Regions from separate parts of the Homo sapiens genome. Here region 2 is linked to region 1. Evidence: promoter capture Hi-C in 16 types of primary human blood cells and fetal thymus (Javierre and others, 2016). All regions are on one chromosome and are shown on one strand. Each heading gives the region's core, a stretch centred on a gene start or on the middle of the fragment in contact. The rest is flanking DNA. Distances are from core to core; before and after follow the strand shown. Region 1 holds the start of FBXO34 (F-box protein 34). Region 2 overlaps PELI2 (pellino E3 ubiquitin protein ligase family member 2).

Region 1 (5,386 bases), core at 1,259-3,758:
GGGGCTGAGCCAGGAGAATCGCTTGAACCCGGGAGGCGGAGGTTGCAGTGAGCCGAGATCGCACCACTGCACTCCAGCCTGGGTGACAGAGCGAGGCTCTGTTTCAAAAAAACATACAAAAAAACTAGTACACCTAACTTACATACAGCCGTGTAGCCGGCCCCAGAATCGCTACCGCTCGGGAAAGACACATGCAAGCGTCCATTTTGGACCTCCTTCAATTGCATTACATAGTATCTTGCCAAGATTCTTTCATCTTAAAGGTTGACTAACACTCTCAATATCAGCAGTTGCATAATAATTCAAGTGCCTCTCAGTCTCTGGTGATCCAAAGGCTCAAATGTGTATCTTTCATACAAAATTTTGTATACAAAATTTGTACATACGAAAAATAATTTGTATACAAAATTGTATCTTTAGAGACTTCACTCAACACTGTCAGCATAAAATTCCTCATTTCTTAAAAGAAGGAAGAAAAAACCAGAACAACTTTCAGTAGCGCACACAATGCTGTCAAATTCCCAAGGTTGTGGTGAGGATCAAAATAACATGTACAGGAAAGCCTTGTTTTGTGAACTTCCAGTCAAATCCAATAGTACCTAACGGGTAAATTTTTGCTTTTATTTCCTGCCTGAAAATGGGCATAACTTCCATCTGCATGTTGATGTAAAACCCAGAGAGACAGTATCTTATCAATCACCTCTAAAAGGCAAATGGGGAGCAGGAAGTATTGAGAGAGAGGAAAAAAAAAAAACCGTACCATTACAAGTCAAGGTCAGTGAGGAAGGATTAAGGACTTCTACCCAAGCTTCCTGCTAAAGACTAACTATGCTTCAAGTTTAAGCCATCTACCTTTTGAACTAGATTCCATTTACATTATTCTACAGAGGAGGAAATGAAAAGTACTGATATGCTGGAATACCCGAAGAGGGTCACTATGACAAAGTGACTAGCTTCTCTTCCAGTTAGATCTCTTCTGAAAGCTTTGGAAGAAAAACAGTATTCACAGACAAATCATTTTTTTATTCTCTAATTTCATATTTAAAAGCACTACAGACAAAATTTTAGTTACCTATCCAGACAAGCGGTCCTGGAATATGTTTTTATATTAAGTTATAGCCGGGTCTCAGTAAGAAAGCAAGAAAACAGCTTGTTGCTGACTTCTAAACCATGGTAGCATGGGGTGGTAGCATGGTACCATAGGGTGGGATAGGGACAACCTGGATAAATTAACTCCTCAGGTAATTATTATTTAAGACAAATGTTGGATTAATTCAAACTCCTCCCTCCCTTTACAACAGAAAAAAAAAATCATGTAAGATCCACTCTCCCTCCTCCTGGCCATTTTCTAACAAAAAATGCTAACAAGCAGATAGATGTCCAGTTAAAAAAAAAAAAAAAAAGCAAACTGATTTATCAACACTAGAAGTGGTTCTCTTTTTTTTCAGTAATTCTGATTGCAAACTATCAAACTACGAATTTAGCTTCCTAAAAGGCTTTTTACATTACACCCTCCAAAAAACCTCCTACCCTGACTTAAGTTTTTCTAAATCAAATGTCTTATACTGAGCTGTACTCGCAACGCTTGCTGGACAAGAAGTTAAAGAAATTGACAACTATTACATTAAAATTGCAAAATGCTGATACCGAACAACTTTCGATTCAAATCCACTGCGATTCCAAGCGTTCGTGGAAGACAACTTCCTTTTTCTACCCTGCGGGTCCCCCCGGCCCTTCCGTGAGCCCAGGTCCCCGCCCGGGCCTGCAGTGACATCCCAGGACCCATCTTCTGACGTCACAGACACACGGACCCACAGCCCTATGACTTCATCGTGGACTGAGGACGAACCGCAGTCGACTTGCGCCAGCCCAGAGGCTGGGGAGGCGTCCGAGCCTCCGTCCCGCCTCGTCGTTGAAGAAGGTTAAGGACAAGCGCCAGCTCACCTGCGCTGGGGCAGGGAAGGGCAGAGTGGCCGAGCCCGGGAGGGCGCGACAGGGGCGAGGCGACCCCAGTCCAGAGGCTGACTTCCTCACCGCCCTGGGTCCCGTAAGTGGGAGCGCCGGTCCGGTGCAAGCTCACGGCCTATCCGTGAATCTCCTCGGCTTCAGCGGGGACCCAGGACCCCGCTCCCTACCCGCCCGACCCTCCGTGGCCCGCGGGGACGCTCAGCGCCCGGGCCGTGCGCGCGGAAAGAGCCGCACCGGAGGAGGCGCAGGCGGCCGGGTCCCTACCCCGGACCCGCGGGCGGCGCCCCCGCCCCCACCCCCACCCGCCCCGCGCCCCGGGAGCGCAGGCAGGCGGCGGTAGGGGGCGGGGAGCGGCCACGGTGGCCGCCGCCGGACCCCAGTCGCGCGGCCCTCGCGCCACGCCCCACCTCGGCCCGGACCCACCTGCGCTCCTGCCCCGGCCGCGGCCTGGCCCGGGGCTGCACCAGCCCGACGCAGTGGTGGCGGCAGCAGCGGTGGCGGGAGGCCTGGCTCACTCCCCACCGCTGAGTCGGACCGAGCACCCAGCGCGGCGCGGCGGCGCCCAACGCTCGCCCCGAAACCCATTTGTTTGGCTAAAACGGAGTGACGTCACGCGCCGGCCCAATCGACGGTTGGCCGGGGGAGGGGCCACGGATCCAGAGTTTCACGGCGCCCCCTGCCGGACACTGGGGGCGGGAAGGGGGAAGTGAAAAGGGAGACCTGGATGACGCGTCTGCGGCCCCCAAGTGGTAGAGAATGAAAGTTTGAGCACGACTGTAGGGAAAGGAATCAAACCTCCCAGGCCAGCCAAGAAGGGTAGTGACGCCAGGGTTCAATCAGCAGACATGTCAAGTTTATGAATATTCGTGGGTGGACCTGAAGCTGTAAATGGTCTCAGATACTATTAGATAACCTAGTAGACCTGGATCCTCATACTGGTTCTGCTGCTAGCTTGGAAGGCTGGGGTTCAGAGTTTCAATTTGTAAAATGACAAAATTGGAAAGGTCCCTTCTGACTCTCTTTCCTATGAAAATCATGGCAGGGATACCGGTCAGAAAGTAGATAAACGTTGAGGCTGACACGAAACTGTTAAAGTCTGTAGAAGCTTAAGGGCTGGTTAATGATGGATATAAATTTTTAACACTTTATATTCAAATCAGAGGGCCAGTGAGGAACTTTTGATTCCCAATCTTTAAGCTTATTATTGTTTTCATTGTGAAAATAATATTAACCACATTGAAAAACATGAGGACAATGTATTTTCTTCTAGACCTTTTGCCCCATCACATATATTTTACTACACTGTAATAGTAGTTGTACGCGATTTTGCATCCTCTTTTCACTTTTATAAGCATTCCTCATATTTCCACATAAGCTTCATAACCAGTTTAACAGCTGCATAAAATTACATTAAGTGGACATAAAATTTACTGCAGTAATTCTCTATTTTTGGACATAACTTGTTTCCTTCATTCACTTTTTGCCATTATAAAGAAATCATAGAACATCTTCATGAATGTAGATTTTTAAAGATACCCAAAAGTGAAATTACTAGGTGAAAAAGACTATCAACACTTTCACAGTTACTAATACAAACTGCCAAATGATTTTTAAAAGGTTGTACCAAGTTACACTTAAACCAGCAACTTTGATTTTAGCCAGTCCTTAACAAAAATAATTTTGTCCAATTATAAAACTACTGTTGTAAAATATATGTGTAAAATCTTAAATATTAAAACGTAAAAACAAAATAAAAATATTTCCCATAATCTCATCACCAAGAAATAACCACTCAGTATCTCCATCTAGACCTTTATCTATATACATATTTTTAATAAAAATTGGAGAGGGGAAGTCCAGGCACGGTGGCTCACATCTCAAAAAGGAAAAAAAAAATTAAGGAAGGGTGTTATATGGTACACCGTGGCATCAAACTGTATGTCTGATTTAATATGTGAGCAATATTAGCTCAATATATCATGATCATTTGAAGCTTCTTTATGTCATAGTTAGCTCAAAATTGTAAAACTTCAGTTTATCCTTTCAGATTCATCTCAAACACTGTCCTTCTTAAAACCTCTTGATTCCTTCTGGGCATGGTGGCTCACGCCTGTAATCCAAGCACTTTGGGAGGCCAAGGCATGCAGATCATTTGAGGTCAGGAGATCAAGACCAGCCTTGCCAACATGGTGAAACCCTATCTCTACTAAAAATACAAAAATTAGCCCGGTGTGGCAGGGCACGCCTGTAGTCCCAGCAACTTGGGAGGCTGAAGCAGGAGAATCGCTTGAACCTGGGAGGTGGAGTTTGCAGTGAGCTGAGACCACACCACTGCACTCCTAACTGGGCGACAAGAGTGAGACTCCATCTAAAAAAAAAAAAAAAACAAACAAAACTTGATTCCTGTTGATTAGAGGACTCAAAAAATTGATATAAAAATGAAATTAATTTTAAAAGACATAATAAAAGCCCGAACTATTAATTATTATATTTTTTCATCTTTTTCTTGAGGCAGGGTCTCACTATGTTGCCCAGGGTGGTCTCAAACTCATGGCCTCAAGCAATCCTCCTTTCTCAGCCTCCCAAATAGCTGGAATTACAGGAGTGAGCCACCATGCCTAGCCTATGAATTATTGATTATTAAAGTCCACAGACATAAAATTATTCTGTCAAATTGCTAGTAAAGTTTCTAAAATCTGATTCTCAATTTCAGTTCTTGTCTCAGATTGGCCAGTGAACCACACTTTAAATAGCCCCAGTCTAGGAGAAAAGAACTAGGAGAGAGCATAACCATGTTAGGCAAGAACTTCCCTTGATTTTGTTTCTCCATTTGTATAATGGCAATGATCCCCTAGAAGCAAAGCCAGTAGAGCCAGTATAGTTTATCAACCCACAGGTCCTGTGGTAGGTCTTCAGGAAGGTGCTCCCCAGGTGGGCATGGGGTGGCACATTGAGGCCATGGGACTGGTGAGAGCCGAAAGAAGAACAAGACTGAGGTGGCACAGCAGCAGAAAAGTTCTAAATATATATAGTATATATATTTGGTTATTCCATTAGTAATTAAAACTTAGTTGTTTCAAGCCAGCAAACATATTAATTAAAACTCAGTTCAAGGGATTTGTCTTGTATAGACTTGGTTTCATTTCTGTTCTTTGCTCAGAAAAAAAAAAAAAAAAAACTAAGAACTTACTGCTTATTCCTTAATAAGCTTACTCCAACCTCCAAATAAAAACACCCACTGCTATGGTTTGAACGTGTCCCCCAAAGTTTATGTGTTAGAAACTTAATCCTCAATGCAACAGTGTTAAGAAGCGGGACCTTTAAGAAGCAATTAGGTCATGAGGGCTCCGTCCTCATGAATGGATTAATGCCATTATCAAGGGAGTGGATTACTTATCAAGAGAGGGAGTTACTATAA
Region 2 (5,386 bases), core at 1,921-4,420, 850 kb before region 1:
TGAAAGAGCAGAACCCACTCAAGGTGGCTTAAACAGAAAAAAAAGTAAGTAAAAACCGAAAGAAGTGGGGACTCTCAAAGGACACAGGACTATTTTCTCGGAAAAGCTTTTCCTGATTATTTTGTCCAAAAGGATCCCCCACTACCTTATCCCTAGCATTTCACCCTGCCAATTCACCCCCCCCCTGCCCACCCAATAACTCTCTTCCTCCTTATCCTGCTTTAGTTTCCTCCCAGCAGTCTCTGAAGTTCCATTTTTTATCTACTCCTTTGCTTGCTCACCTCTCTCAAAAAAAGGTAAGCTCCAAGCAGGCAGGAAGGGCAGCTGTCTGTCTTGTTTGCTGGTGTAGCCCAGGGCTGGGAGCAGTGCTGGTCCTCAGTCAGTATCTTGAGTCACTGAATGAATGGTCAATCACACGAAACTAGGTCTCAGGAGGTACCCGAACCAGGAACTAGAAGCAAGACAGCTGCCCTCTAGCTCACACTCCATTCTCTCTCTGCCTTGTTGGGCTGCAGCCTCAGTTTCTCCTTCCAACTCCACTGTGCCTTCCAACTCCACTCTGCAAAGAGCAGAGGGCTTTCTTCACTCCCATCTCATACTAGCAAAACCCTGAGACAGTCTCCTGTGCTCTTAGGGTAAAGTCCAAACCCCTTCCAATATCTTATAAGCCCTTCATGATATCCCCCCATCATCATCCCTCACAATGTTTCATTCAATCATTCTTTCCTAGCCATAAAGAGTGTTTCTCTGTTCCTCAAAGTAGCTGCACGTTTTCATCTCTAGGTTGCAGAATACTCCAAACCTTCTTCGGAAAGCACTCCTTCCCTCTTATCTCCATCGTGGTCATCCCCATCTCATCCTGGCACATGGCTAGGGGACCCTGCTAACACATCCACCATCCCAGCCTTCAGGTCTTCCAGCTAGGCTGTCAGTGCTGCAGCAGCAGGGACCATGACTGTCTTGTTCATCTGCGTATCCCTTAGTGCAATCCACAGCATCTGACAAGTGGCAGATGCTCAAATATTTGGGGAATAAATAAATGAACCATGTATCAGTAACGGTTATTCACAAAGAGGCTGGGACAAAAATAAGAGAGCAGTTCACCAGGAAAAGGAATGTGTCTGCCTTGTCCTAGCTGTATTCCTCATGCCTGGAAGAGTAGACAGCCAATAAATATTTGCTGAATGCATACATTCCTGGCTTGCCTGATGTAACTCCACCCCTTTCTCTCCCACTTGAGAAAACACATCAGAATGCAAAAGGGTGAAAAATGACATTATTAACATGACATATCTGAATCATTTGAAAGATCCACACTTTATTACTTGTCATAAATTACTGGCCACATACCCTCAAGACTGATCATCACATATGAGGTACTTGAGACAGTGGTTGAGAACAGGTGATTTAGACAAAGCTAAGAAATATGAAGCACTTTCTGCTCTTATTATTTTATTTTCCAGAAGATGAAGGTGACAATAAGCTCAGTAAGAACTAATAACTGAATTATTCTAACCTTTACTTTTCTTTTTATAAAATAGATTTCTGCACACCCCAGGAGAAACGTTTAATTAAATCAAAAGACATTATAAATTCCTTTTCACAGTTATTTTTCTCCCATACCAATGAGGTCTACCAAGTTGCTGTTGTCTCCATTCAAAAGCCAACCTACAACCCCATATACCTACTTTCAGGAAGGCCACACTGCAAGCCCTGCACAGCAGATATAAAACCAGTGCTCCAATGTGACAATATTGGTCTTCCTCAAATATAGCAACGGCTATTTTGTTTTGTTTTGGTCCTTTGTGCATAAGTATTTTATCTTTTCGATAAAATGTTTGGTAAAATTACTGAACCTGAATCAAGCCTGTTTTACTTTCATTTATACACAGCATCCCCAAATATTGATCACAGGATGAAACACAACCAGAAATGAAAAGACCTAATGAAGCTTTCAGTCTTGGTGTGTTAAAGAGAGAAATAAATAAATCTGAGAAAGCCAGACCAGAAACCACACAGCAACACAGACAGCCACATATTCCAAACAAGGCTAAAGTTAGTAAAGGAAAATATAGCAACTCAAAGCCAGTAACACCGTAACCCTTAATAGCCCACAGAATTAGACACTCCATCCACACAAACAGATCTGAGCTCTTCAGATCACCCCACATGCTGAGCTACAGTAAAGATTTTGTTTTATAAATTTTTTTAAAGTTCAAAGACCTTTTAGTCTATAAAAGATACTAATGTTTGATGTCTTTGGGCCCAAATTAGAGTGGAGGATGAGAAAAGGAAAAGTGTTAGGGTATATTTGAAGGTTTCTTATTGCCACCAAAGGGTGGAGTAGTCAAGGCAAAGTGCTGAGGTTACAGCAACAACAAAAAGCATACAGAAAGTGGGACCTGCTTTTAAAAAAAAAAAAAAGACCATAAACTCTACAAGCTACTATACCCCTCTTTGTCTTACCTAACAAAACACTGAATCATCCAAAGGAAATGAGGCAGGTATCTACCTCCTTTTGTAGAGCTTATCAATTTCTACTAAAATACTTCATTTTTCAGTCATATTTAGTCATATTTATAAATTTTCATTTGTAGAGGTTCTTACCCTCTTTTTGTGCCAAGAATCCCTTTGGCAGTTTGATGACATGTAATGAGCCCTTCTCAGACTAATGTTTTTAAACATACAAAATAAAATACAAAGGATTACAATTGGAATCACTTATACTTAAATATCAAAAGTCTTAAATTGCTATACACATGTGCACTTCTGTAATAATGCATTAAATAACAAAATCTAGCAGCAAGTCTTTTTGTTGCCTACACTCATAAGTGAATGAAAATGCTAAACTGCAGTTTGAATATCATGAAAATCAAGACATGTTTTTCCCCCATCTAAGTTCAAGAATGTCCCGAACTCCATCTGTGGACCCTAGGTTAAGAACCCTTGGTTGAGAGAGCCAATAAAAATACATTTTGTGAAGCATCAAAAGAAAAAAAAAAAGTCTTGCAAAATGCATTATCCATTCAACTGTGAGGTGAGAGGAACTAAGAGAGTAAGCAATATTTTTCCAAAAACCACCATGGGCCATTAGTCAGCAAGAGAGCCACATGCTTCAAATTGAATCCAGAAAGGATGCTTTGAGGAACTGACAGCGCTGCTGGAATCTGTCTTAAAGTGAGGAAAGGGTAGAGTAGGGGAGTACAGCCACCCAGCTCAGCCCAGATCAACTATGAACTTGAACCTCTCTTGTTCTGGGAGCCTGTGTCCTCAAGAATAAAATATAAGGGCTAAACATATACCATGACCATTAGGCCCCCTTCCAGTCCTAATTTTTTTTTATTATACTTTAAGGCTGGAATACATGTGCAGAATGTGCAGGTTTGTTACATAGGTACATACGTGCCATAGTGGTTTGCTGCACCCATCAACCCATCATCTACATTAGGAATTTCCCCTAATGCTATTCAGTTCTAAATTTTTATCATGAGATCATCTCCTCTTTATGCTGGTTATTTCAGTCTATTTAGCTAAATTTCAAAACATCACTGTCTTTCTTAAACTTGGAACATAAAGTTTTACACAATTTAAATGCTCCCATGGGTAACCTAACACCAATGAGTCAAACAGATGTATATCATTACAACTTTTTTAAACATTCTGTTTTTACGCACATCTTCATAAAAAACAACCACAGCATTGATCTTTTCTGCTATTAAAACAACTGTCAGGGAACTTAGAATATGTAACTAAATAGTTTCTACATTTGCGCCAATGAACAGAATTACTGAGCACAGACCAGGAAGGGCTCTTGAAGCCTACCTAATCCAATCATATTTTGCAAATTGATAAAGAAACAGAGAGGAGGAGGAGGAATTAAGCCAAAGTCACAGAGCCAGTCAGCAAGAGAGAAGGGCTTATTCAGGTCACCCACCTGTAAATGCATGTTCTTCCCACTATACCAAACTGCCTCTCAAATCCTGAGCCACTTCCCTAACCTTAAAACGTAAGTTTAAAATTATAGCAAAAAGACCTGCTGGTTAGACCAGTCATTTTTCTCTACCTTCAGTTAAGTAGTGGACACAACAAAGAGTTGTGGCTATGATACATTAACTGGCTGGAATCATGAAATAATTAAATTCCACTAATCAGCCCAGAAAGTGATGAGCTCACTAAAATCCTAGCTATGTGGAATCTCTTAATAATACTGTGTAACACACAAAAAGATATAGAAGTATTTAGATATGGATATAGACATCTATCAGCTCTTCATTCTGCTCTCCAGGATTTCCTAGTAATGTTTCACTATGACATTCGAAAGTGAGCAAAAAGGACAGTCACATAACCATTAAAAAAAAAAAAAGCACTGAATTTGACAAGCAAAGCTTCTATCAATACCAAATATTAGGCATTTTTAGATCTCAGGAATCATCTCATTATTCAGAAAATCTACTTGAAATTTTCTGTTTTCCAATATTTATACCCCAGAGGACATAAAGATAATATCATAAAGATGATATTAATTCTATGTGAATGTTATTGTTGTTTTAAGATGAAGTACACTGTCTCAAATCCTAAGGGTGGAATATGAATAAGGTTCTCTCTAAAAATCTTCCTACCTAGTCACTCTTTCACCTGCACTCTTCAATGTGTTCAACATTGGTAAACAGTCAGAAACCTACCCTCGAAAAAAGAAAAATACCACAATTCAAGTATTCAAAAACCAGACTAGCATCCTCTACTCACATTTCACCTCCTCAGAGAGAACTTCCCTCACCTTCCAGCCGAAGAAACCAATACCCACCTAAGCAGTCACTCTCCAAGTTTATCAACTCCTCTTCAGAACTTGGCTGCACCTGAAATTGTCACTTATTACTCCTCTATTTGCATGTTTCTTTCTGTTTATGCCTGTCACTCCACTCTAAAAGGAAAGTTCCCTGTTCTCACTGCATCAGCAATGCCTAAACAGCACAGGCACAGAGTAGGTACACAAACGACGGTTGAGTGTCTCGCCCCCTAAGTGCCAACTATGTCATACTTTGGTCTCCTGGAAAAGCATTAGCAAAGGGCAGACCATATGCAACTGCAACGTTATATCCCGGGCTCCTGTGGAGTGAGACTATGATACTAGGACAATCCAGGGTTTCAATCCTTTCCGTGGCTTCGGAATGCCCTGCACTTCCAGCTATGAACACAAAACCTCTCCAGGCCCACTCGCTGCTTTTCTGAAACATCTCAACAATGATTTCCTCAAAAGGAAATAATGAAATAAAGTTCTGGCATACGTTAATCTTCCGCGTCAAGTTCACAGTGTTAAACACACTGAAGCCAGCCACACAAACAAAACCAAACTCCACAAGATTAGGTTGGGCTGAAGTTACATAAG

What was found. The method cuts DNA at HindIII sites, captures the fragments that hold promoters and counts their contacts. A CHiCAGO score of 5 or more calls a contact.
Region 2: a contact is called between a fragment that was not itself captured here and the fragment with the promoter of FBXO34 in region 1, in 1 of 17 cell types (fetal thymus). The highest score is 8.2, in fetal thymus.

What each region holds. Positions count from the first base shown.
Region 1 is chr14:55,268,543-55,273,928 of GRCh38, reverse strand. FBXO34 (F-box protein 34) reads right to left here and starts at 2,508. Exons shown (of 2, transcript NM_017943.4): 1 at 2,392-2,508. FBXO34-AS1 (FBXO34 antisense RNA 1) reads left to right here and starts at 1,851. Exons shown (of 2, transcript NR_184222.1): 1 at 1,851-2,047. RefSeq lists a silencer at 1,957-2,456. The HindIII fragment of the contact is 2,090 bases long and covers 986-3,075 here.
Region 2 is chr14:56,120,216-56,125,601 of GRCh38, reverse strand. The region is part of intron 1 of PELI2 (pellino E3 ubiquitin protein ligase family member 2); the gene reads right to left. Among named protein-coding and RNA genes, the nearest start is that of PELI2, 4.5 kb to the right of the region's middle. The HindIII fragment of the contact is 2,434 bases long and covers 1,954-4,387 here.